Regions from separate parts of the Homo sapiens genome. Here regions 1, 2, 3, 4, 6 and 7 are each linked to region 5. Evidence: promoter capture Hi-C in 16 types of primary human blood cells and fetal thymus (Javierre and others, 2016). All regions are on one chromosome and are shown on one strand. The core of a region is centred on a gene start or on the middle of the fragment in contact, and the rest is flanking DNA. Distances in the headings are between cores, read along the strand shown. Region 1 has its middle 34 kb from the start of MTF2. Region 2 overlaps DR1 (down-regulator of transcription 1). Region 3 overlaps ABCD3 (ATP binding cassette subfamily D member 3). Region 4 holds the start of MTF2 (metal response element binding transcription factor 2). Region 5 holds the start of DNTTIP2 (deoxynucleotidyltransferase terminal interacting protein 2). Region 6 overlaps CCDC18-AS1 (CCDC18 antisense RNA 1). Region 7 has its middle 49 kb from the start of CCDC18-AS1.

Region 1 (3,646 bases), core at 1,137-3,636, 830 kb after region 5:
TTATCCTCATGCATTTGGGTTTTCATCTCAAAGAAGAGCTGAGTGTCATCTACATTCCACTTTCTGCCTTCAAGTCTCATTTTCTTCATCTGTAAAATAGGATAATAATACATTACTCATAATTACTCATAGGATCGTTGGGAAGATTAAGCAATAAATCCATGTAAAATGCCTAGCATAATGTCTGATGTATAGTGGCATTCAAGAAATGTAAATTACATTTCTCTCTGTTATTGGGTCCTTTGATGATTGAATATGCCCACTGTTTTCTATTTTCTTTTTCTTTTGTTTTGTTGTTAGAACAAGATAAAACTCCTTGATAAACTGCAGACATATTCAACGGTTATTAGCGCTAACCATATGGGCATCAACATTCAGAATTAGAACAATGTAATAATATTGACCTAGTATTCAGTTAGCAATATTGACATACAGAAGATTGAGACCACCCTGGCTAACACGGTGAAACCCTGTCTCTACTAAAAATACAAAAAATTAGCCGGGCATGGTGGCGGGCACCTGTAGTCCCAGCTACTTGGGAGGCTGAGGCAGGAGAATGGTGTGAACCCCAGAGGCGGAGCTTGCAGTGAGCCGAGATTGTGCCACTGCACTCCAGCCTGGGCCACAGAGTGAGACTCCTTCTCAAAACAAATTAAATAAATAAACAAATAATAATAATAATGTTGACCTAATATTAGGTTGACCTATTAGTTTCAGATAAAGTTAGAGTTAGGTCAATATACATTACAACTAAGTTTAGGAATTAATCAATACGTAACTTCTCAGGATCTTCTCTCTTCAACTTTAGACAGGTTTTGATTAAATTAGTCAACAGAAAACTTTAAATATATTGAAATTTAGAAGTACATAAAAACTTGTAAATAAGCAACATTAGTTATGTTTAAAATAATCCTTTTGTCCAGGCACTGTGGCTTAGACTTGTAATCCCAGTACTTTGGGAAGCTGAGGTCAGTGGATCACTTAAGGCCAGGAATTCAAGACCAGCCTGGCCAACATGGTGAAACCCCAACTCTACTAAAAATACAAAAATTAGCTGGTTGTGATGGCGCACACCTGTAATCCCAGCTACTTGGGAGGCTAGGGCATGAGAATCACTTGAACCCGGGAGGTGGAGGTTGCAGTGAGCCAAGGTCTCGACACTGCACTCTAGCCTGGGTGACAGAGCAAGACTCTGTCTCAAAAATAAATAAATAAATACATAATAATAATCCTTTTATCCTTTTGTATAATCCATGTGCTATCCCCTGCTTTTTTTTCTTTTTTTCAAGCTTGTGGGAAGTGGTATGATTATGGACAGGCTATCAAACTTCTAAAAATGAGTTTTCAAACAACCTTTGTAGCTGGAATTAGATAGTTTGGTACCGATCATGCCTTGGCTACTATTAAAATTTCTAAAAGGGGCCAGCCTCAGTGGTTCACACCTGTAAGCCCAGCACTTTGAGTGGCCAAAGCAGGCAGATCATTTGACGTCAGGCGTTCAAGAACAGCCTGGCCAACATGGTGAAACCTTGTCTTTACCAAAAATATTAAATAACTTTTAAAATTGCAAAAACCACAGTTACTTTTGCATCAACCTATACAAAAACTAGCCAGGCATGGTGACACGTGCCTGTAGTCCCAGCTACTTGGGAGGCTGAGGCAGGAGAATCTCTCGAACGCAGGAGGTGGAAGTTGCAGTGAGCCAAGATCACGCCACTGCACTCCATCCTGGGCAACAGAGTGAGACCCTGTCTCAAATAATAATAATAATTGTTATCATCATCATCATCTAAAATGTTATAATCCCTAAAGATCTCCACATCTGATTCTCATATTTTGTAAGTTGCATCTGCACTGCCAGTAAGGTTTTGCTTTCAAATTGTTTAGTTTTGTTTTTGAGTCTTCAGACTTTAAAAAAATTAAACAAGTTATACTACACTGTGTTTGAAAAGAAAAAGAATATAAATGAAAAGGGAAGCCATAAATATCAGTCAACAGACATAGTTGAGAAATTTGGGGAACTCTAGGTCTATACAACTTTCCTAGATTGAACCCTGTAGTCTCAATTGATTTCAATGAGAATTTTTTGTCAAGTGAGGGATGATAATTTTTATATAGATCTCATTCTTACTTTTCCAAGTTTTCACTTTAATTCTGTAGTGGACTCAGTGTGGGTAATAGGCATATTAGATTCCACAAAATTGTGAAAGTTATTGGTCTGGATTTTATTTTAGAGTGCCAACTGTTGTGGTATTCACTTCTGTTTGAATCAACTATAGCGTATAATGTCAAAACAATACATTGGAACCAATAGCTCCCAGGGTAAAAATTATCCGTGTACAGATGGTGGGCAAGAGTGATTACTTAAATTCTAGATATATAAATACCATAAGTACATATTCAGAGTTATGAATGGAGTAAGGATTCCCACAGTATTAATCTAACTTCAACAAGCCACGCAAATAGAGTGAAACACAATCTGTTCTATACATTTTGCACACTCTCAATTGCTGTAACATGAGAAATGGTATTTTAAGGGTAGAAACCCTCAACTGCTTTGAGACCACAAAAGTCCATCAGTTTACAGCTGGAGGCTTCTATCTATTCAGAATGTTTGGTACTCTTACAAACAGTAGCCCCACCGTTAAAATTAATAGATTTTGTATCCTAGGGGGCAAAGTTCTTTAAAGTCATGACATGACTTTTGCTTTGGCCTTGATTTTCCTTTTATTTCTAAGGAGTTTCTGTAAAAGGATTCCTTTGTTAACATATACCATTTTCGTTATAATATAACATTAGTTTTTCCTCTGTATTTTCACAAAAGCAAAAAAAAAATTGTACAAGCCAATACTTATCCCTAAAATATATTTTTCTGATTACAAAGTATTGATGTTATTTCTGAAAAAATATAAAAAGTATAAAACAAAAAATAAAAATTACTCATAATACACATAGAGAATAACATTTTGGTGTCCATATTCCCATATAAAACACAGTCATATGTTGCTTAACGACAGGGTACAGTCTGAAAAAAGCATTGTTTGGTGATTTTGTCCTTGTGTGAACATCATAGAGTGCACTTACACAAACCTACATGGTAGAGCCTACTACACACTTAGGCTATATGGTATAGCCTATTGCTATACCATAGCACCATATAGGACTATGAATTGTCCTATAACTAAATATGGTACTAAGAACATAGAAGACAATAAATGCTTCAATTTATGATAATTAGGCATTGAGCAAAACTCTGATTTTCTATACCAGTTCTTCACAAGATGCCTATTAAATTGAGTTGAAACATTGATGGGATTGGTGTCTGCAAGAAATATTCTGGAAATACTAAATTTTATAATTTAATGTTAATAGGCTTTTAGTGTTGAGAGTAATGTATTTCTTGCTAAGTCATCAATAAACATCTAATTTAAAATACAATAAAAATAATTTATAAAATAGGTCATTACACTTATACAAGCTTGTTGAACAAAGGCTAGTAATATAATTTTTTAAGTACCATGAAAAGAGATCATACTGGTTCTGTGTGGTGGCTCATACTTGTAATCCCAGCACTTCGGGAGGCCGAGATGGGAAGATTGCTTGAGCTCAGGAGTTCAAGATCGGCCTGGGCAACATAGCAAGACCC
Region 2 (3,813 bases), core at 184-2,683, 510 kb after region 5:
GCTGGAGTGCAGTGTCGCGATCTCAACTCACTGCAACCTCCGCCTTCTGGGTTCAAGAAATCCCCTGCCTCAGCCTCCCAAGTAGCTGGGACTACAGGTGCACACCACCAAGCCTGGCTAATTTTTTGTATTTTAGCACAGATGAGGTTTCACTATGTTGGCCGGGATGGTCTCTATCTCCTGACCTCGTGATCCACCCGCCTCGGCCTCCCAAAGTGCTGGGATTACAGGCGTAAGCCACCACACCCGGCCTGTAATTTCATTATAACATTGATGAAAAACAATTATTTACAACCAGGGCCACTGTCTGTGTGAATTTTGCATGTCCTCCACATATCTGCATGAGTTTTCTCTGGGTATTCTGGTTTCTTCTCAATTCCCAAAGATGCACGTTAGGTGAATTGGTACAGCTAAATGGTCCCAGTATGCGTGTGTGTGCCGTGTGAGTGCGCCCTGTGATGAAAAGGCATCCTGTCCAGGGTTGGCTCCCACTTTGCTCCCTGAGCTGCTGGGATAGGCTCCAGCTACCCAAGACACTGAACTGAAATAAGCAGGTTGAAAAACGAATGAATACAAATTACTGTAAAACGAAAATTTGTAAAGTATATAATAATCATACAAATGCACAATAAATGATGCAGTATGAAAGCACTCAGCAAGCCCACTTTATTTCTTATTTTTTGTTTTTGAACTGCATGGTGGTAGGAGGTGCTCCTTAAAATTTTCACTTCCCAACAGTTATTCCTTGATTTAACCCACTAGCACTACAACTGCTGTCACTCACTGATTCGCCAAATATTGGGTAAATAATTTTTACTTTTTTTTTTTTTTTTTGAGACAGGGTCTCATTCTGTCACCCAGGCTGGAATGCAGTGGTACCATCACGGCTCACCGCAGCACCGACTGTGGGATTGTTTAATGCAGGGTTTATCAATAACAACCCCATAAACATTTGGGGCTGGATAATATATATATTTTTTTTGAGATAGGATTTTGCTCTGTTGCCCAGACTGGAGTGCAGTAGCGTGATCATGGCTCACTGCAGCCTCGACCTCCCAGGCTCAAGGGATCCTCCCACATCAGGCTCCCGAGTAGCTGGGACTACAGGTGCAAGCCACCACCTCTGGCTAATTTTTGAATTTTTCTGTAGAGACGGGTTTCACCATATTACCCAGGCTGGTTCCGAACTCCTGAGGTCAAGCCATCTGCCCACCTCGACTTCCCAGTGTTGAGATTACAGGCGTAAGCCACCATGTCCAGCCAATTCTTACTTGTTTTTATCCTTTTTAAATGTATATAAAGCTCATATTAATCTCAATGTTTAATTTTAGAAGTGTTTTGGGTCTTTATTAGAAATTTGGTAGTGTTTTTGTAACCAGAAATATATGCCATAGGGACTTAACTCTTATTTATATCAGTTCACCTATGGTAAAATTGATTTCATTATATGTTGTTTTTCTTAAACTCGCAGTTTCCCAGAACCTATCAACAACATTGAGGACTTATTGTATTATAAATTATCTTTATATGAATATAAAGACTTTCCCTATTTCAATTGCGAATATACAGATCTGTGCACTCAAAAATAACAAGCCTATTAGGACTCAAACAGTTATTTGTATACCCACGTTCACAGAAGCATTATTCACAATAGCCAAAAAGCAGAAGCAACCCAGTGTCCATTAATGGATGAACTGATAAACAAAATACGGTATTTACATACTACGGCATATTTGGCCTTTAAGAGGAAAGAAATTCTAATACATGCTACAACATGAATGAACTTTGAAGACATTATGGTAAATGAAATAAGAATGAATCCATTTAGATATCCAGAGTAGTCAATTCATAGAGACTGAATGCTGGTTACCAGAGGCTGAGGAGAGAGGAGGTAATGGGTGGTTATTGTTTAATGAATACATAATTTCAGTTTGGGAAGATGAAGAGTTCTGTAGACGGATGGTGGTGGTGGTTGCACAATAGTATGAATATACTTAATGCCACAGAATTGAACACTTAAAACTGGTTAAAGTGGTGAATTTTACGATATGCATATTTAATCACAATAAAAAATGCTTATTAAAAGATGTACTAGTTATGAAATAGCATACCTCATCTGTTTCAAACTGGGTGTGGCTAACAATGAGGTAGAAAAGCAGCAAGCAGGTACAGAGATTTATAATGGCTGCTCTAGGTCCTATCGGGTAAAGGGATCAGCAGATGTGAAGTCAAGAGTCTCCTGTAAGATTTGACTTTCTTGGAAACATATTTTAATCCTGGGCCTCCTCTTTCCAAATCACCTATTTCTTTTAGTCTTTTTGCAGTGATACTGTGTGTTGCTTCTAACAGAGGTTCAGTTTCACAGCCTTTCCCTCAAGTGTCTTATCCTAAAAGTAAAACCTAGATGATCTAAGGTGGTGGTTTTCAACAGGGTGCAATTTTGCCTCCTATACTCGCAACACCCAGGGACAGTTGGCTATGTCTGGAGACATTTTTGGGTTGTCACAACTGGAAGTAGGGTGGGGAGTGGTGCTAATGACATCAAGTGGGCATAAGCCAATTATGCTGCTAGAAATCCTACAATGCACAGGATAGGCTCCCACAAACAAAGACTTAACCAACCCCAAATACTAACAATGCTTGGTTTGAGAAACCCTGTTCTAAGGTTTTTCTAAGTTGCTTGATTTATGGTAGAAACTGATCATAAGTTAAAAGTTTCCTCCTTTTGGATTGCTTGAGCCCAGGAGTTTGAGGCTATGGTGCATTATGATTATGCCTGTGAATAGTCACTGTAATCTAGCCACTGCAATCTATATTAAGAAACATAGGCCGGGCGCAGTGGCTCACGCCTGTAATCCCAGCACTTTGGGAGGCCAAGGCGGGTGGATCACGAGGTCAGGAGATCGAGACCATCCTGGCTAACACGGTGAAACCCTGTCTCTACTAAAAAAAAACAAAAAAAATTAGCTGGGCGTGCTAGCGGGCACCTGTAGTCCCAGCTACTCAGGAGGCTGAGGCAGGAGAATGGCGTGAACCCGGGAGGCGGAGCTTGCAGTGAGCCGAGATCGCGCCACTGCATTCCAGCCTGGGTGACAGAGCAAGACTCTGTCTCAAAAAAAAAAAAAAAAAAAAGAAAGAAAAGAAAAGAAAAAAGAAAAAGGAAACATAGTGAGACCCTGTTTCTTTAAAAAAAAAAAAAAAGTTTCTTCCTCTTATTCCTTACTTTCTCTTCTCATTTATTTTGAGGAAATAGGATAAGAACCAGTGGTAATACTTTAGGTGAAAGGAGGCTACTTATGTTATCATTCTCTTCACCCTGGCCGATCCTAACCATGACACTTTATATCCTGGGGGATGGTGAAAAACAGAGGAGGTGGGGTAGGACTTGTGGTCAAATTGTTGGGGACAGAGGCAAAAAAGAAAACAGCAACAAAAAAATACAAATGAAGAAATTGGAAGGCAGTGCCTATGCCATCTGAATTGGATAATTCTTCCTAATGGCCATTTGGATATAGATGAGTTGGACAGACATAATTTAGAAACCTATATAAGGAAATATCATGCATTTTAATGAGGTTATAACCCAAAATTTAAAATTCAATTAAAAAATTAAATCACAGATTTTCCCACAACATACTAATTCAACATACTACTTACGATTACTTAAAATTTGCATTTTTTCTAAGGAGCAATAACCTAATGAGTATGTAATACTAATGTGTCAGTTAATAAGGGCAATTACTTTTGCTCTTATTTTCCTGTTATATGAAATTAACAACATACCTGCTGCAATATAACTCATTTGGTACAATT
Region 3 (3,828 bases), core at 394-2,893, 540 kb before region 5:
CTTTAATGTTTACACTCTATTAAACTGTCAAAAGCAGGTGATGATAGCATTTTTTTAAGTTTCTGAGACTTGCTTTACCTGTACATATAGGGGGTATAAGTGGTCCAGCTCCTAAAGAGCTCATAAATATACTAAAGACAACATTTACATTTGTAGCAAAAAGAATGTGTTATTTAAAACAATAGTAACCACAGCCCCCAAAAAATGAGAATCTCATTTGTTGTTGTAGAGTCAAACAAATATGAGTGTCTACTATATATTCCAGCCACAGTTCTAGCCACTGGGGCTATAACTGTGAATAAAATAGACAAAAATTCTTGCCTTTGTGGAACTTAAATGCTAGCAGTATGTATATACTGCAAACATATACAACAGACAAGATAAATATGTAAAATATATAGCATATTTTATAGTGATAAGTGCTAAGGAGAAAAGTAAAGTCTGGAAGGTAGACAGGATGCTATTTTGAGTGGCAGGGGCCAGGCACAGTGGCTCTTGCCTGTAATCCCAGCACTTTGGGAGTCTGAGGTGGGAGAATCGCTTGAGCCTAGGAGTTCGAGACCAGCCTGGGCAACATAACGTGACCTTGTCTCTACAAAAAATATTAGCCAGGTGTGGTGACGTGTGGCTGTAGTCCTAGCTACTTGGGAGGCTGAGGTAGGAGGACTGTTTGAGCCTGGGTGGCAAAGGTTGCAATGATCCAAGATGGTGCCATTACACTCCAGCATGGGTGAGAGAGTGAGACCCCGTCTCAAAATAAATAAATAAATAAAAATAAATCGAATGGCAATAGAAGGTCTCACTAAAAGGATGTCTGAAAAAAGACTGAAAGAGTGGGGAGAGTAAGCAATGTGAGTATCTGAGGAAAGAGCACTTCAGGCAGGGGAAACAGCAAGAGCAAAAGCCTTGAAATAGAATGCCTACCCAAGGATGTGAATGTGCCAGTAACTGGGACATATAATTAATTAAACAACCTGTACTCAGTTCCCCCTAGCAGACCACAGACAGCTACACAGTTCTCAGAACACTGCTCTGGGCCTGATCTGCCTCAGTTGGGTTCAGTACACAGCTACTTTGGCTGGCAAATTCTTCAATGCTTTTTTTTCCATCCAAGGTTGCTTAAGCATCTCTTTTTTATTTTGAGGATCCAAACGGGGCCATATAACATCTACTCATGGGTAACTGTAAGGGTCTCAAGCCGCTCTAGCCCCTCACATGATTCATGCTTGCACTTTGCAAAACACCCAGTGCGCCTGTGAAACTGAGAAAAGTGAAGCCAGCCCCTTCTAGAGCTTGATTTGAATGGGGCAGATTTAAGGAAGGAAAGCTGAATTTTGAAGTTTGCAGGAAAGTTGTAGAGGGGTTAGCAGTAACGTAGTGCAGGGAGTAAGAAGCTGGAGATATAAGGACACCCAATGGGTAAAGAAAGGCCCAGCAGCAGGCAACAGGGCTGAGACTCAGGACAAAAAAAAAAGTCAAGAAATTTCCAGCAGTGGGAATGTCCAAAAAACTTCTAAATAAAAGCATTTTAAGCTGTTCACTATGCTGGGATATAATCCCTACCACTCCTCCCAAATTTTCAATAAAGCCCTACTATAAATATCTGCTTTGTGATTGATTCTTTAGAGAAATCAAGGCAGACGCCAAAGAGACAGGCTCAAGAGACAAGATGTAAGTACCTTCTAAAATAGAGCAGAAAGTGCTCCAAAGGAAGCGAAGTAAGATGTCACTAAAAGAAACACAAGCTCCCTGAAATTCCTGAGAAATATTTAGGAGAGGAAACTGTGTTCCCACCATTTACAGAGGGGGGCTTTTAAAAGCAGGAAACTCACCCCATAAGCAGGTGGACTTTGGTAGACCTAGCTAGATTATAACCAGTCAAGCAATGAATAGATAAAACAATAAAGGTATTTAAATGCATGCTTCAGAAATTTTAAAAGAGGTGATCATCATTTAGATCATCTGGAGTAGTTAAATAACACTTCATGGATAGGGTGACCCTGACCTAACCCTTCAAGGATGACAAGAGTTGGAGAACAGGGATATCATAGAAAGATATTCTAGGTATGAGTAACAGCATGAATAAAGCTCCAAAGCCAAAAATGAGTGTGGCCTGTTCAAAGAACAGTGTAGAAACTGTCCTATTTGGAACAGAGAGTACCCATTGGCAGGCAATGGCATATAAGATTAGCCAGGTAAAGTAAGACCAGATTGAGGGAGGCTCTGAAATCCAAGATGAGAAATCCGAACTCTATTTGACAAGCATTGATAAGAAGCGAAAGAAACTGCTTTGTTCTGTTCTGTTTTTTAAAGATAATAAAATACTATGGCTATACAGACTGGTACCATTCCCTGCCTTCTAAAATTGGCCCACTGATTTCCCACTACCCAGGTCAGGTTATATATGCTCAGGTACACAACTATTACTTCTGCAAAAAGAATGTTTCTATTCATGTTTGTACTAGGCATCTCCAAATGCCTGTCAATTACGCTTAAAAGTTCTTCAACTATCCTATGTCATTTATCCTCTCTATAAACACTGTCTAACCCATGACAGAGCCGAACTAGGGAATTAAAGATGACTCAGTTCATGCCCTCAAGAAACTCAGGATCTGATGTAGGCAAAAGCCAAGAAAACAAACTAGTACAATACAGAATGGTAAGTGCTAGAGTAGGGGATACCTAGAGCAGTAGTCTCCAACCTTTTTGGCACCAGGGACCAGTTTTGCGGAACACGATTTTTCCACAAATTGGGGTTGAGTTGGGGGATGGTTTCAGGATGAAACTGTTTTGCCTCACATCATCAGGCATTAGATTCTCATAAGAAGTGTGCAACCTAGATCCCTCACATGTGCAGTTTACAACAGGTTCACGCTCCTATGAGAATCTAATGCCCCTGCTGATCTGACAGGAGGCGGAGCTCAAGTGGTAATGCTCGCTTGCACAGGCTGTGCAGCTGGGTCCTAACAGGCCACCAACCTGTACCAGTCCACAGCCCGGGGGTTGGGGACCCCTGGCCTACAGTATCATAAAAGCAGAGGACACTTACATCAGTTTGGAAATCAGAAAAAGACAGAAAACACCTAAGACAAAGTGTTGACTGAGTCTTGAAGAAAAAGAAGTATCAGCTGGGCAAGTTGGCTCATGCCTGTAATCCCAGCACTTATGGTTGGATGAGTGGGAAAAGTAGGGAAGGACCACACCATGAATACAGAAAGTTTGTATTTTAGAGTAGATTAATGATTTTAATGAAGGAATATTATGATCATATCTGAGCTTCTTAAAAAGAGCTCTGGTGGCAGTGGAAGATGGATTGAAAGGGCACCACAAAGTTTCTTTCTAACATAAATGCAACAAAAATCTGATAAAGGATGCTGTAACAGTCACTTTATTCCAGTTATCCACTCCTACCCCCTTTCTAGGCTTAACACACATCCTTCATGAAGCCTTCCCCAACCCTTCCCAAACACATTAATCTTGTCTTTCTCAAAACTTCTAAGACATGTCTATCTGTACATTTCATTCTGCTATCAGTGTTTAAGTTTCTTTTCCCTAACAAGAAGGTAAGCTCCCTGAGAAAACAAGTCATATATTTTTGTAATACACACACACACACACACACACACACACATCTTATAGCTCCCAGTACAGTAATATAACATTCTGAAATAGACACTTCCTTTAAATAGCCCTCTTTATCCATGAGTAAAAAGATTCTTCTTTTCCCCATAAATAATAAAATAAAAGGTAAGATTAGGCAAACTAAGGTGAAAAAGTTAGCTTAGCAGTGCTGGAATCAGGAGTGAATACAAGCTGATCAGGAATGAA
Region 4 (4,004 bases), core at 387-2,886, 800 kb after region 5:
CTATAGGGCACTTAAAGCCATCAGTCAAAACAACTCCCTTTAAAGCATTTTCAAATCTTAAAAAGGTTATTGTGAATTTAATTACATTTTATCCACATTAACTACTTCTACATACAACTATCTTTGAAATTTACTGACAAAAAAAAAAAAAAAAGGAATTCCCAAGAGAGAATGAAACCATGGAAATTGAAACCAGCTTGTAGGCTAGGTATACAGGAGGGTCACATGGAATCCATCTGAAGGAGAAAGTAACTACTATTACTACCGGAGGTTCTGAAGTCAAATTAAATCAGGTACTATTTACATATTTCTAGCTCTGTACTGACCTCACATGGTGCCTTCCTATGTATTACACACAGGCCTAGCTAGGTTTTCACATTTAAGTTAGTGTTACATGGTTTCTATCTTTAACCAAAGTTAAATGTTTTAAAGAATAGAGTAACATTCCATAAGCCTTTTCCCATTGTTCACAAACCCTTGCTGTTAGTCAGATTACCCCGATAAATCCATCTGTTCCCTCTAATTGCTTCCAAAGAAAAATTCTAGCAACCAAGGACACCAGATTGTAAAACACAGAGTTAGAGTTCTGGCACTACCGAAATATGTTAAGAAATCTTGGCAAATTGGTTAAAATTCCTTGAGCCGTAATTACCTCAGTTGTAAAAATGAATACAATACAAATCTACATCCTAGACGTAGATTATATGAGTTAGGTTTAATTAAACACAAGAAAAGCCTCATATTTTTGGTGAGCTCCAAATATAAGCTACCTAGCTTTCCCCCATCTCACTTTCCCTCCCACCGCTTCCCTTTAAGCTTTCAGGTTGTGCTTCCAACCTCCACTTCAGTGTGTTCCCCTTATCCTTACCAGCACTTACACTCGACCCCCTTTACTCCAATTCCATACAATTCCACCCTCCGATTCCAAGCTGCTACTTCCCTTTGCGCACTGCTAAGGTCCCAGGCAGCCCTCCACTCTGCTCCCCACATTTCCCTCAGCCCCCATTTCCCAACGGCTCCTCCTCTCGGCTCCCCACCCCCTCGTCACCAGGTTCATCCTGCCCCTCCAACCGTCTCCCGCCCCCAGGTTCCTTCCTGCCCTCCAAACACAGCTTCCCCGTCTCAACGTTTCATCTTGTTCCTCCAACAGACTCCCCCAACGACCTCCTCGCTCCTTTAGTCCCTATTTTCTCCCAACACTCAACTGACTACTCCTCTTCATCCATTCTTTTCAATATACACATAAATGCAAAGGCACCCACATACAGGAGCCCCCACCCCCACCTTGGTCCTCCATCTTTCCCTTTTATACTTGCTTCCTTTCTTCCTCCTTCCCCCAACCCCCATCTCCTCCGGAAGAGTCGGTTCCCAGGCCAAGGTCTCTCACCTCATTCGGTCACTTCAGTGGTGCCAACCGCTTCATACAGGAAAAAACAACCAATCCGTCCCCGTGGGCGCTTCCCCTGCGAGTCCGAGCACTTACTGGGCACCCGCCCCACCGGGTACCCGGCACATATGCACGCACAAACCGAGGTCCTTGGAGACAAGGGTTGGGGGTAGAATGAGCGTTCTTACACCGGCCTCAAACACAGCCCACTTCAATACAGCCCCTCGCCATTTTGGTTTCCCGCGGACTGCCGGTGCATTCTGGGAGCGCGGAGCGACTCCGGTGCCGAATGGCAGCTCTCCAAAGCCGCGGGGGGGCAGGGACTGCGCGGCGAGCGCGGAGGAACACCGCGCCCTGCGTCCCCGACTGGGGCTGAACAAAGAAGGACTCTTTAACGTTGCAGTGAGGCTCAGTCCTTCCGCCGCCGGGGCTAACACAATAGTGAAAGCTGCGCTCCTGATCGTCGGCAGGCTGGCACTGTTATACAGGAAAAGGGTCGTGTGCGACCTTCGGTGTGCGTGGTCGTAACGGTGCTCTGTGCATCTTGCTGGGCCGATTTCTTTTCCCTGGAGAAAACCTTAACTGAAGCACGTTTCCTCTACTTTCATCCTAAGGCCTGCTGTTAGAATTTCCTTCAGAGGGGAGAAGACCCAGGATGTCGAGATTAAATTTTATTCAGCGATTCACTGTCCAGTCCCAAACTCCTTATCAGGAGCTGCTTTTATGAAAGACTTTCAGACGATTTTTTTCCTAACGATGAAAGGTTGTTTTCTGTTTACCCGCTTTGCAGTCCTTCCTAGTTGTAATGAAATCTGAGAATAGTCCCCTGCAAAATGGTTTAAGAAAACAGAATTGTTTATTAGTGCAGACCCTTAGCCTGCCCAGATTCTGCTGCCTACAGGGGTCCCAACTGACAAGCTGTGAGATTGTATGCTTGTCTCTTTAACTTACACCTAGATACAACCCAGCTCCTCTTAGTAGCCACGTGTGGAATCTTTATTTATAATTTCGTCAAAATATTTTTAAAGCCATTTTATATTTTTGTCCCATATTATGCCACAGGGATAGTGAACACCATATTTTTTCTGTCTCTGAAAAAGTACCTTTTGTGGTCTAAGCTCATTTGGCTCATACTTCAAAAGGGGTTCCCTCAGCCTGTGATCTCAGAATTTGGCAAATAAGCATATTCGTTTTATCCAATACCATTCAATACTTTAAATATTGTGGTCATACCCTTCCACTCCTCTGCTTCTCCTGAATAATAGTCCTAATCTTTTAAGTCTGTCTTCTTACTGTACCCTCACTGTATCTACTTACCTACTACCTTTCAGGTTTCACTTTATTTCAATTCTCATCATCGTCTCTCATAAATTCGTCTTAAGTGACCTTCATACGTTGGCTGAGGAAAATTTTGACTTAAAAAAAGCAGATGCAGCCGGGCGCGGTGGCTCACACCTGTAATTCCAGCACTTTGGGAGGCCGAGACAGGCAGATCACCTGAGGTCGGGAATTCGAGACCAACCTGATCAACTTGGAGAAACCCCGTCTCTACTAAAAATACAAAAATTAGCCAGGTGTGGTGGCACATGCCTGTAATCCCAGCTACTCGGGAGGCTGAGACAGGAGAATCGCTTGAACCCAGGAGGCAGAGGTTGTGGTGAGCCAAGATCGTGCCATTGCACTCCAGCCTAGGCAACAAGAGCAAAAACTCCATCTCAAAAAAAAAAAAAAAAAAGTAGATGCATTCCCATTCAGGAACGTGGCATTAAGGTAAATAAATAAATAAAATATTAAAAAGTAGATGCAGTACAAAAATTAATAAAGATATTGCACAAACAGATATATTTGCTGTGCAGCTAAGCCTAATCAGAGAACATCTGTTTTGGAGAACGTTTGGTCTAAGTTTTCCTCAACATTTCTGTAAAGTGGTCACCAAGCCTCAACTTCAAAATCTTCAGTGATTCAATACTTCAGACGCATTCATTTCCACCTCAGAAACTCTAATAATTTAGGCTCTTTGGCTACACAAAAGTATTCTAATCCCTTATACATTAGAGAAGTAAATTATGCCTCTATCAAAAAAAAGTGTTATTTTTCTGTGCAAACGTGTGAGTACAAAGGTGTAAGCAAACCAAGTGTTCAGAGATTTAAGGACACTCAGGGAGTCACAGTCAAGTATAAAGAATACCTGTCAGCCAGCCACCAGCAACTCACTCCTGTAATCCCAGTACTTTGAAAGGCCAAGGTAGAAGGATCACTTGAGCTGGGGAGTTCCAGACCAGTATGCAGTCTGAGCCACATAGTGAGACCCTGTCTCTACAAAAAATTTAAAAATTAGCTGGGCCCCTGCCTGTAGTCCCAGCTATTCAGGAGGCTGAGGTGGTAGGCTTACTTGAGCCACAGTGAGACTGCCTCAAAAAAAAAAAAAAAAAAAAAAAAAACCTGCTGTAGTTGTGGTTCCTCGGAAATATAGAGTGAACTCTGATCAGAGTAAACTGTACCCTTTATTGTTGTATGTATTTCTGTGATCATCCTTAGGGTGGTTCATAAGTATTCTGGTTCCCCTCTCTTCCAGACACATAGTAAAATTGCACTCTGGCCGGGCGCGGTGGCCACG
Region 5 (3,523 bases), core at 36-2,535:
CGTTTAGGCCTATAATCCCAGCACTGTAATCCCAGCACTTTGAGAGGCCGAGGCGGGTGAATCACCTGAAGGCAGGAGTTCAAGACCAGCCTGCCCAACATGGTGAAACCCCGTCTCTACTAAAAATACAAAAAAAAAATTAGCCAGGAATGGTGGCGGGCGCCTGTAATCTCAGCTACTCAGGAGGCTGAAGCAGGAGAATCGCTTGAACCCGGGAGGCGGAGGTTGCAGTGACCCAAGATTGCGCCATTGCACTCCACCCTGGGCGACAGAGCAAGACTCCGTCTCCAAAAAAAAAAGTCAGGGACGGCCTCCTCTCTTTTAGATGCCGTCCCTAAAGACATGCACACAATTTATACCTAATTGGCTAAAACGTAGTCACATAGCCACATTTGGCTGCAAGAGAGACTATAAAATAAGCTATTTTAAGCTGGGAAGCAGTGTGTCCATCGACACAGTGTTCTGTGACTTTAAATAAAAAATTGGTTTTCTGTCATGAAGTAGAGACTAGGTTTGGTGAGGCACTCATTCATCCTTTCTCACCTCCAACAATAATTTGCGTTTACTTATTTTTTCAACCCCTTCCCATCCCCTCAAACATAGTTCTCTACCTTTTATCTCAAAAGATAACCAAAGAAACCTCTTGATTCTGGTCATACTCTTCCTTTCACTGTGACAATAACAACAACAACAACAACAACAAAACCTTATTCTTCTCCTTTACAATTTCTTTAACGTTTTTTTCTTTTCTGCTATTCCCAATCCCTAAACACCATCTCACGTTTAGATTATACAGCTTTCCACTTCGTCTCCCAGTTCCTGCGAGCACCTTATATCCCTTTTACCCCAACCAAGTCCTTAAATTTTATTTATAGTTAGCGTCACAATACACGAGTAAATATTGTCTTTCTTTAAAAAGCACAAATATCTCAAACTTCTCCCTTGGACATACCAATGGCTACATTAAGCTCTTTAGAACGTAGAAATGAAAGAACGCCTCCCGGGTTCAAACGATTCTACTAAACAAATGAAAGAACGAATGGCATGTAAGTGCGTTTTTACAATTCATGTGAACGGGTACGCTAAGACCCTCTGTCACTGCGGGCTTCGCCGCCCCGATGAAGGTCTTTCCCAGCAAAAATCTGGCTTGCCTTCTACAGCTCTGAAATGCACACTTAAACCCAGGCCCTTTGTCTCTGACCGCCCTGGCCTGAACTGGCTGGGCGGAGATTCTCGCGAATTCTCGGATCTGCGCGGAAAACGCGCTCGAGGCAGTTCTCTGACGCATTTCCGGAGCGCCAGGGAAGAGGGAAGTCGTGGTGGTCGCGAGGGAGCCGGAAAGATGGTGGTTACCAGATCTGCACGGGCTAAGGCCAGCATCCAAGCCGCGTCGGCTGAAAGTTCCGGGCAAAAGGTAGGAAATCCAGTCTTCCCTACTTCTCGCCGCTTCGCAGAGCCGCGCTCAGGCAGGCGGGGCGGCGCAAGGGTCCGGTTAAGGGTGAGGACCTGCCGACAGAGAGGACCCGAGCTTGCCGCGCGCTTGGGTCTCCCAGGCCCCGTGCTAAGCCTGTCACGGAAACTGTTTAGCCTTCACCACTGTCTCTTAAGGCAATTTTTAGTATGGAAGAGAGGTTAGATAACTTTATTTGGGTCGTTCAACTCCTTAATGCAGAAGCACAGTTCGAACTTTTAAACCTTACTGTTAACACGGTACCAAGGAGGGTTAATTTCGGCCACCATGCACAAGCCCCATTTAGGGGGGCTGGAAAAAAAGCTTCGTTTTCACGTGGGGAGGCTGGCAGCTGTCCAGCATCACCTCCTTAAGGCGTGAGGAGGGCTGTGGTGTCGTCGCCTGGTGACTCTTAGTGGCGTTAGTCGGCTGTCTCATTCTGACTCAGCGATGCAGGGAACGGAGCGGCGGCGATTTTTTCCTGTACGTAAAGGTAAGGGCGGCGACTGATTCCATCAGTGTGTTCCTAAACACATCGGTGTTCAGAGTTAATATTCCCTTTCTCCCCTCTTCTATAGGTGGGTCAGAATGTTGGTCTACCCATTATATTTGACTTTAAACAGAAAAATTTTAATCGTTCTGCTTCTGAAGTTACATCTAGGAAGGATGAGGCTAGTGAAGTAAATGCAGGGTTGGCTCCAGTGTTTAAATTTTGATTTTTTTGTTTGTTTGTTTTTGATTCGGAGTCTTGCTCTGTCGCCCAGGCTAGAGTGCAGTGGCGCAGCCTCGGCTCACTGCAACTTCTGCCTCCCGGATTCCAACAATTCTTCTGCCTCAGGCTCCTGAGTAGTTGGGATTACAGGTGCGCACCAACACGCCCCGCTAATTTTTTTACTTTGAGTAGAGATGGGGTTTCACTATGTTGGCCAAGCTGTCTCGAACTCCTGACCTCGTGATCCACCTGCCTCGGCCTCCCAGAGTGCTGGGATTACAGCCGTAAGCCACCGCGCCCGGCCAAATTTTGATTTTTTAAAAATCATGAGTTGGGCAGGTTTTTTTGTTTTTTGTTTTAAAGGTAATCTTGTTTACTGGGTTTTAGCTTTTGGGGTCAGTATTTCATTTGCTTTGCCCTTGTTCCAGCCCTACCTAAATTACAGTGTGTTTTCTCTGGTTTGCAGAGTTTTGCTGCTAATGGGATTCAAGCGCATCCAGAAAGTAGTACTGGATCTGATGCCCGAACTACTGCTGAATCACAGACCACTGGGAAGCAAAGTTTAATCCCTAGAACTCCTAAAGCTAGAAAGAGGAAGAGCAGAACTACAGGCTCACTACCAAAGGGGACTGAACCATCTACGGATGGAGAAACCTCTGAGGCAGAGTCAAATTATTCTGTGTCTGAGCACCATGATACCATTTTAAGGGTAACTAGGAGAAGGCAGATCTTAATTGCATGCTCCCCAGTGTCCAGTGTTAGGAAAAAGCCGAAAGTAACTCCAACAAAGGAGTCTTACACTGAAGAAATAGTGTCTGAAGCAGAATCTCATGTTTCAGGTATTTCTAGAATTGTGCTTCCTACAGAAAAAACTACAGGAGCCAGAAGAAGTAAGGCTAAATCTCTGACAGATCCAAGCCAAGAATCTCATACAGAAGCTATATCTGATGCTGAGACATCAAGCTCAGACATTTCATTCTCTGGAATTGCAACTAGAAGAACCAGGAGTATGCAGAGGAAATTAAAGGCACAAACTGAAAAGAAAGATAGTAAGATTGTACCAGGAAATGAGAAACAGATCGTGGGTACACCTGTGAATTCAGAGGATTCAGATACCAGACAAACTTCCCATTTACAAGCAAGATCTCTTTCTGAGATAAATAAGCCAAATTTCTATAATAATGACTTTGATGATGATTTCTCCCACAGAAGTTCAGAAAATATATTAACAGTGCACGAACAGGCCAATGTTGAATCTCTTAAAGAAACAAAACAGAATTGTAAGGATTTGGATGAAGATGCCAATGGAATAACAGATGAGGGGAAAGAAATTAATGAGAAAAGTTCTCAGCTGAAGAATC
Region 6 (3,719 bases), core at 1,197-3,696, 560 kb after region 5:
CCCAAGTGATAAAAAGAGATCCGGGGGGCTCTCCAAGCAGAATGAGCAAGAGGTGGGATGGCCTGAAGCATGAACAAACTTGGTGTGTTCATGGGACAGAGTATCAGAGTGGTTAGAGCTCAATGAACAAGGAGAAGAGTGGAGAGAGATGAGGTCAGAGACACAGATGGGGCAAGATTTGGAGAGCCTCATAGACTCTGATGAGAAGTTTGTTGATTATTCTGATGCAATGGGAAGTCTTTAGATAATTTTAAGCAAGGAAATTATATTCTCTGGTTTACGCTTTAGAAATATGACTCTGGCTGCTATGTGGATAGAGGAAGGACAATGAGGAATCAAGAGTGCAGCCACAGAGACCAGTGAGAAGTGATGATGGCATTGACCTAGATTGGAAGAGTAGAGATGGAAAGAAGTGGTTAGGTTCAGAATATATTTTGGAAGTTGGAGCTAATGGAACCTATTGATGAATTGGAAGTAGATACTGATGGATTGAATGTGCTGTGTGAGGAAAAGAGAAGAGACAAATAGGGCTCCTAGGTATTTGTCCTGAGCAACTGAGTGTATAATTGTGTAATTTACTAGGACCGGAAAGGCTCAGGGGAAGCAGACTTGGGGTGTGATAGAAATCCGATAGCTTGGTTTTGGCCATGTTAAATTTGAGATGCTTATTAGACATCCAAGTTATATGCTGAGTAGATAGTTGGATATACAAGTTCTGGAGCTCAGGCAAGGAGCTTGGGTCTAGAGATATACACTTGAAAGGTATCAGTATATAAAGTTCTTTGAAGCAATGAGTCTAGACGAGATCACCTAGGGAGACAATATAGAAGGGGTATCCAATCTTTTGGCTTCCCTGGGCCATGTTGGAAGAAGAATTGTCTTGGGCCACACGTAAAATACACTAACACTAACAATAGCTGATGAGCTACACACACACACACACACACACACACACACACACAAAATATCTCATAATGTTTTAAGAACGTTTACGAATTTATAAATGTATAGCATTCCCTACTCTGGGATAGAACACACACACACACACACACACACACACACACACACACACACACACACACACACAATATCTCATAATGTTTTAAGAAAGTTTACGAATTTGTAAATGCATAGCATTCCCTACACTTGGATAGAAAGAGAGGAGCCGAGGACCAGAGTTCTGCATACTCCAACATTTAGCAGTATTCTGTCTTCATGTCCAAGGCAAATCTTTTATTATATTCTCTGATCTTATCCAATTCACCTCTTCTATAGCAGATTAAAAATGACTGTAAATTCTTTGACACTTCTACCAAGAGGTGGGGTGTAATTCCCTTTCCCTTGAATCTGGGCTGAGTCAGTAAGGCCAGTCAGTGACTTGACCAACGGAATTAATCAGAAGTGACATTCTGGGATCCGAGAGATGAGGTAATAAGAAGACTTATACCAATAGTTTCTGCCCAGGATATTTGGAATATCCTCTCTGAAAGCTTGAACCATCATGTAAGAAGGCCAGTCACCCTAAGAGTACCCTGGAAAGACCATCTGTAGGTGCTCTTATTGACATTCTTAGCTGAGCCCAACCTTCCAGTCACTCCTGCCAAGATATCAGACATGTGAATGAAGCAATCTTGGAATTTTGAGACTAACCCATCTACCAGCAAACCTGGCAAGTAACCACATAGGATATCGTGGGGCAGAGAAATTGCCCAGCTGAGCCCTGCCGAAATCTCTGGCCCCTCAAATCATGATATATAATAAAATGGGTAAATTTGGGATAATTTATTATATAGCAATAGAAAACTGAAAACACCTTCCCTCTTTGTCTGGGACCTTATTTTATAATCAATTCTCATCCCTTCTGGTTCATGCTACCTTCTCAACCACACATTATTTTATTACCAACTTTTCCTTCCTTCCTGGTTCTTTTTCCTCCACCTGCAAGCATGCTCAGTCTTTTCTACCTTGTTAAAAACTTTCTTAAACCTACTGCAAAATCTTTTTCCTTTAACGCACCCCTAAATTGATCTCACTGAGTTTACCAATATCTAATTGACAAAACCATCAGATATTTTTCTGTCCTTATATTTAACTGTATTCGGTTTCAGAAGTTCTCATCATGATACTTTAAGGATGAGGACAGCTGATGTGGCTGGCCTGAAAAATAAGGTAAGAACCAGAACTAATCTGCACAGTCAGGGATTTCAGTTTTTTTAGGCCTGAGTTTCTTTAGCTGAGACATGAGAAGCACCTCAAAATCAGAGCTCCTGAAGACAAGGTGGATACAGAGTGAATGAACCAAGTAGAACAGAGCTGGATAGGTGAGAGGAAAATAGCATGAGAAATTCCTTGATCTAGAATTTTGGTCCAGCATTTGAGGAACAGCAGGATCAAACTTCTGAAAATAGAGTAATAGACTGTCAAAAAGAAGGGTAGGCTTAGATTAGTGTGGAGAACAGTCAGGAGAAAGCCCTTAACCAGGTTCTTAAACTTTATTTTCCTTATGAATCAATTGGAAAAGTTTTGTTAAAGATACTGATTATCCTGCCTTGCCCAAGAAATTCTGGGGTTGGATTGACAATTTTTCTTTCAAATAAACACCCCAGGTCATTCTGATACAGGTGGTCTTCAGGCCAGACTTTCAGAAACAGCATCCTAAAGAAAGAGGAAGGGCTTGGGTGGGCATTCTGGAATGGGACCATTTGGTTATTTCTTCTTTACCTAATTGGTTAACTCATTAGTTTGCTCATGATTCCACAATCTAGGCTGGGCTCAGCTGGAACACTGGGAGGCTGAACTGAGTTTCTCTCTTTCTCCATGTAGTTTCAGGGCTTCTTCCTCTTTACATGACCTCCATATGTAGCACTTTCCATGTGGTCTCTGCAGCAGAGTAGCCAAACTTCCTACATGTGGCTCGGAGCTTCAAATAGCACAAAAACGGAAGCTGCCAGGCTTCCTTAAAGTTGAGGCCTGGAATTGGCACTGTGTCACTTTTGCTACATGCCACTTGTTGAAGCAAGTCACAGGCCTAGCCCATATTTAAGGAAAAGCACCATACAAATGTGGGAACACTGTGAGATGTGGTTCACTAAGGGGCCATAATTTAATGGGTTAGCAGAGAAAATACCAGAATAAAATAAGATAAAGCTGGCTTTGTTGGGAGTAGAGATGTATAAGGTTAATATATATAATAAGCACAACCACAAAAGCATGCTCAGTTTTTAAAGATGAACCACAAATTAAGCTCTGAGTTTCCTAATAGCCAGGAAAATCAGTTAGGGTTAAATAAATTAATAAAGAATTAACAATTATTTATTATGGGTAGTTTGCAAATCTTTTTTCCCATTCCGTGGGCGATCACTTCACATTATTATTTGTCTCCTTTGCTGTGCAGAAGCTTTTTAGCTTGATGTAATCTCAGTTGACAACTTTGCTTTGGTTCCCTATGCTTTTGAGGCCACAAAAATCTTCCCAGACCAATATCTTGGAGCATTTCCTCAATGTTTTATTTTCGTAGTTTCACAGTTTCAGGTTTTACATTTAAGTATTTAATCCATTTTGATTTTATTTTTGTATATGGTAAGAGATAGGGGTCTAGTTTCATTCTTCTGCATATGGTTATCAAGTTTTCCCAGCACCATTTATTAGAGACTGTCCTTTCCCCATTGTATGTTCTTGGTGCCTTTGTGGAAGAAGTTTGGCTGTAAATGTGTGGATTT
Region 7 (4,035 bases), core at 1,326-3,825, 580 kb after region 5:
TTGTAGATCAGAGGTTCTTAATTTAAATGTTTGATCTTTTCCTTCATAGTTTATTCATTTTGTGTCTTGTTTAAAAATCCTTTCCTACCCTGAAATCATAAGAATATTCTCTTGCAAATATCTTCTGAAGGTTTTATAATTTTGCCATTCACATTTAGATTTTTAATCCACATGGAATTGTTTAATTACCTTTTTAAAACTTTTACAAAGGAGCTCAATGTATTCATTTTAAAGTGGACTTAAATATCGTCTCCTTTTTCATTTTATAAATGAGGAAACTCAGGCCTGAGTTAATCCCAGCACTTTGGAAGGCTGAAGCAGGTGGATCACATGAGGTCAGGAGTGCGAGACCAGCCTGGCCAACATGGTGAAAACCCGTCTCTACTAAAAACACAAAAATTAGCTGGGCGTAGTGGCAGGTGCCTGTAATCCCAGCTACTTGGGAGGCTGAGGCAGGAGAATGGCTTAAGCCCGGGAGGCGGAGGTTGCAGTGAGCCGAGATCGCACCACTGCACTCCAGCCTGGGTGACAGAGTGAGACTCTGTCTCAAAAAAAAAAAAACACACACACACACACGCTGACACACACACACGCAGACACACACACAAACTGAGATGTTTTGTTATTCTTGAGTTTTAAGAGTTCTTTATATATTAAGATTACAAGTCTTCTTCAAATATGTGATTTGTCAATATTCCAGTCTATGGCTTGTTTTTTTCATTCTATTTAACAATGTCTTAGGCCGGGCACGGTGGCTCATGCCTGTAAACCCAGCACTTTGGGAGGCCGAGGCGGGCAGATCACAAGGTCAGGAGATCGAGACCATCCTGGCTAACATGATGAAACTCTGTCTCTAGTAAAAATACAAAATATTAGCTGGGCATGGTGGCGGGCGCCTATAGTCCCAGCTACTCGGGAGGCTGAGGCAGGAGAATGGCGTGAATCCACGAGGTGGAGCTTGCGGTGAGCCAAGATTGCTCCACTGCACTCCAGCCTGGGCGACAGAGCGAGACTCCGTCTCAAAAAAAAAAAAAAAAAAAAGTCTTTTGAACATAAGTTCTTAACTTTGATAAAGTCAAAATTACAAACTTTTTTCTTTTATGGATCATAATTTTGGTGTTACATCAAATAAATCTTTGCCTAATCCAAAATCACAAAGATTTTTCTCCTTTGTTTTCTTCTAGAAGTTTTAAATTTTATATTTAAAACTTGAAAGCTTTAGATTTTACATTTAGATTTTACATTTAGATATAGGATACATTTTTTAGTTAATGTTTATGATGTGAGGTATGGATTGAGTTTTCTTTCCCACATGGATATTGAATTGTACCAGCACAGTTTATTAAAAGATGTCTTTTTTTCTACTGAATCACCTTTAGAACTTTCTTGAAAATCAATTGACCACATATGTGTGGGTCTATTTCTGGATACTCATCTTGAATTCAGATATTGAGTCTTCCAATTCTGTTTTTGTTTTCAAAGCTGTTTTGGCTTTCTAGGTCTTTTAAGTGTCAGCATGAATCTAAAATTCATTCGCTTATGAATTTCTACAAAAAATCCTGCTGTGATTTTGATTGGGATTTTCATCTGCAAATAACAAGTATTATTACTTCTTTTCAAATCTGGAGGCCTTTTATCCTTTTTGTTTTTTTTACCTTATTGCACTGGCTAACATCTCCATTAAATGTTGAAAAGAAATGGTGAGAGTGGACATCCTTACCTTGTTTCTAATCTTTGCATGAAACCATTCAGTTTTTCACCATTAAGTATGGTGTCAACTGTAGGTTCTTCATAGATGCCTTTTATCATATTAAGGGAATTAGTCTTCTATTTCTAGATTGTTGGGGTGTGTGTGTGTGTGTGTGTGTGTGTGTGTGTGTGTGTGTCTGTTGAAGATATATACAACATAATGGGAGGAAGTGGAGCAAGATGGTTGAATAGAAGCCTCTACCAATCAGCCCCTCTGCACACTAAATTTAACAATTATCCACATAAAAAGCACCATAAAAACCAAAAATCAGGTCAGCAGTCACAGTACCTGGTTTTAACTTCATATCACTGAAAGAGGCACTGAAGAGGGTAAGAAAAACAGTCTTGAATTGCAGATGCCACTGCTTCCATATCCCCCAGCAGTAGGTTATATAGCGCAGAGAGAGAATCTGTGCATTTTGGGGAGTAAGAGCGCAGTGATTTTGGGACTTTGCATTGGTACTCAGTACAGCCCTATCACAGTGGAAAACAACACTGGGCAGAACTCAGCTGGCACCCAACAAGGGAGCATCTAGACCAGCCTTAGCCAGAGGGGAATCACCCATTCCAGTGGTTGGAACCTGAGTTTCAGCAAGCCTCACCAACACAAGCTAAAGTGCTCTGGGGTCCTAAATAAACTTGAAAAGCAGTCTAGGCCACAAGGACTGCAATTCCTGGGCAAGTCCTGGTGCTGTGCTGGGCTGGGAGCCAGTGGATGTGGGGGGCATACGACCCAGTGAGACACCAGCTGGGGCAATCAAGGGAGTGTTTGTGCCACCCCTCCCCCAACTCCAGTTAGCACAGCTCAAGCCCCAGGAAATACTCCTTCCCTTCACTTGAGACAGGAAAGAGTCTTAAACAAATTTACATTCCCATCAGCAGTGTCCATTCTTTATTTTGTAACAGTTAAGTTTTATAGGTGTCTTGGGGTGATGATAAAAAGTAAAGCTAAATCAGTTTCTAAATATATATTTGTTATAAATGGATAGAAAAAAATGCATCTTGAACATGGAATTGTTAAACCACCTCTGAGTAGTGTATATCAGAACTTGCTCATTAGGTTGGCAGCAAAAGGACAGAAAGAAGTTTAAAGGGAGAGATGTATGTAGATGTGTTTATATTTACATATTGATGATAGCCATTTATGTGTGTGCATCTCTTTTGGTTCTACTATAGTAACACACTCAGTAATCCAATGGAAACATGCTTTTTCACTAATATTCTTTTTTTTTTTTTTTTGGTGAGACAGAGTCTCGCTCTGTCACCCAGGCTGGAGTGCAGTGGTGCAATCTCGGCTCACTGCAACCTCTGCCTCCCAGGTTCAAGCGATTCTCGTGCCTCAGCCTCCTGAGTAGCTGGGATTACAGGCGCCCGCCACCACGCCCGGCTAGTTTTTGTGTTTTTAGTAGAGACAGGGTTTCACCATGTTGCCCAGGCTGGTCTCAAACTCCAGGGCTCAAGCAATCCACCCGCTTCGGTCTCCTAAAATGCTGGGATTACAGGCATGAGCCACAGTGCCCGGCCTTTCACTAATATTCTAATAATATAGTTCTGATAATGAATTCTCTTAGAAACATACTAGTGTACTCTTGCTTTATGTCTCATTTTAAATAGAGCATTAAGGGAATGCAGTAATTTTTATTAACTTTGCCGATACCTTTATCTAGACGCCTATTGCCATTTTGGGCTTCTGTGAAATTTTTGTCCCCAAGAAAGGCAGGATTATATATTTTTTAATATAGATTGAGTTGGTGTAGTATATTCTCAGTTATCAAAATACTTGAGATTTTGAATTGGTAAATATTCATAATGTGTGAAAAGGCATGATACATACTGCATGATCTCAACCACATAAAATTGGATGTTGTATATAGACAACACAGGACCTAGAAGGACACATCCAACTGTAAGATGCTTGTTATTGTGGATTATTTTGTTCTTTGATTCTTGTGTTTTTCAATTCCCCGTAATGCACATTTGAAATTTAAAAAAAAAGTTATTTTTAAAACATGTATGAAGTCCCCATTGCTCATAGAATAAAATTAGCATATTCCATAGGGGAAAAAAAGAATTAAAATGTCATAATCTGAAATTTTCTTTGTGGAAAAGTTTTTAAACTTCAGTTAAATTTATTTAATAGATATAGGGCTAATCATGTCATCAGTTTCTTCTTAAGGAAGCTTTGGTAGTTTGTGTCTTTGAAGAAATTTGTGCATTTGAAATTGCCAAATTTATTGGCATAACTGTTGATAACATTCTATATCCTTTTAATAAGTGCACAATCTG

What was found. Contacts are between HindIII fragments. The CHiCAGO score rates a contact against its expected background, and 5 or more counts as called.
Region 1: a fragment that was not itself captured here is called in contact with the fragment with the promoter of DNTTIP2 in region 5 in 1 of 17 cell types (total CD8 T cells); the score reaches 8.2 in total CD8 T cells.
Region 2: a contact is called between a fragment that was not itself captured here and the fragment with the promoter of DNTTIP2 in region 5, in 3 of 17 cell types (M1 macrophages, M2 macrophages and non-activated CD4 T cells). The highest score is 7.2, in M1 macrophages.
Region 3: a fragment that was not itself captured here is called in contact with the fragment with the promoter of DNTTIP2 in region 5 in 1 of 17 cell types (non-activated CD4 T cells); the score reaches 5.7 in non-activated CD4 T cells.
Region 4: the fragment with the promoter of MTF2 here is called in contact with the fragment with the promoter of DNTTIP2 in region 5 in 4 of 17 cell types (non-activated CD4 T cells, total CD8 T cells, naive CD4 T cells and 1 more); the score reaches 6.3 in non-activated CD4 T cells.
Region 6: a contact is called between a fragment that was not itself captured here and the fragment with the promoter of DNTTIP2 in region 5, in 2 of 17 cell types (M0 macrophages and M2 macrophages). The highest score is 8.0, in M0 macrophages.
Region 7: a fragment that was not itself captured here is called in contact with the fragment with the promoter of DNTTIP2 in region 5 in 4 of 17 cell types (M2 macrophages, M1 macrophages, endothelial precursors and 1 more); the score reaches 10.0 in M2 macrophages.

Annotation. Positions count from the first base shown.
Region 1 is chr1:93,043,122-93,046,767 of GRCh38, reverse strand. No RefSeq gene overlaps it. Among named protein-coding and RNA genes, the nearest start is that of MTF2, 34 kb to the left of the region's middle. The HindIII fragment of the contact is 2,189 bases long and covers 1,292-3,480 here.
Region 2 is chr1:93,364,171-93,367,983 of GRCh38, reverse strand. DR1 (down-regulator of transcription 1) reads right to left here. Exons shown (of 3, transcript NM_001938.3): 3 at 1-3,813. Among named protein-coding and RNA genes, the nearest start is that of DR1, 20 kb to the right of the region's middle. The HindIII fragment of the contact is 5,973 bases long and covers 1-3,813 here.
Region 3 is chr1:94,421,366-94,425,193 of GRCh38, reverse strand. The region is part of intron 1 of ABCD3 (ATP binding cassette subfamily D member 3); the gene reads right to left. Among named protein-coding and RNA genes, the nearest start is that of ABCD3, 4.9 kb to the right of the region's middle. The HindIII fragment of the contact is 5,695 bases long and covers 1-3,828 here.
Region 4 is chr1:93,076,915-93,080,918 of GRCh38, reverse strand. MTF2 (metal response element binding transcription factor 2) reads right to left here and starts at 1,636. Exons shown (of 15, transcript NM_007358.4): 1 at 1,388-1,636. The coding sequence starts at 1,392. RefSeq lists enhancers at 1,593-1,887, 1,824-2,073. The HindIII fragment of the contact is 3,598 bases long and covers 819-4,004 here.
Region 5 is chr1:93,876,968-93,880,490 of GRCh38, reverse strand. It overlaps DNTTIP2 (deoxynucleotidyltransferase terminal interacting protein 2), which reads left to right and starts at 1,285. Exons shown (of 7, transcript NM_014597.5): 1 at 1,285-1,414; 2 at 2,629-3,523. The coding sequence starts at 1,343. RefSeq lists enhancers at 463-1,278, 1,130-1,559. The HindIII fragment of the contact is 5,310 bases long and covers 1-1,776 here.
Region 6 is chr1:93,316,618-93,320,336 of GRCh38, reverse strand. All of the region lies in intron 8 of CCDC18-AS1 (CCDC18 antisense RNA 1), which reads left to right. Among named protein-coding and RNA genes, the nearest start is that of CCDC18-AS1, 27 kb to the left of the region's middle. The HindIII fragment of the contact is 1,907 bases long and covers 1,493-3,399 here.
Region 7 is chr1:93,295,219-93,299,253 of GRCh38, reverse strand. No RefSeq gene overlaps it. Among named protein-coding and RNA genes, the nearest start is that of CCDC18-AS1, 49 kb to the left of the region's middle. The HindIII fragment of the contact is 2,713 bases long and covers 1,219-3,931 here.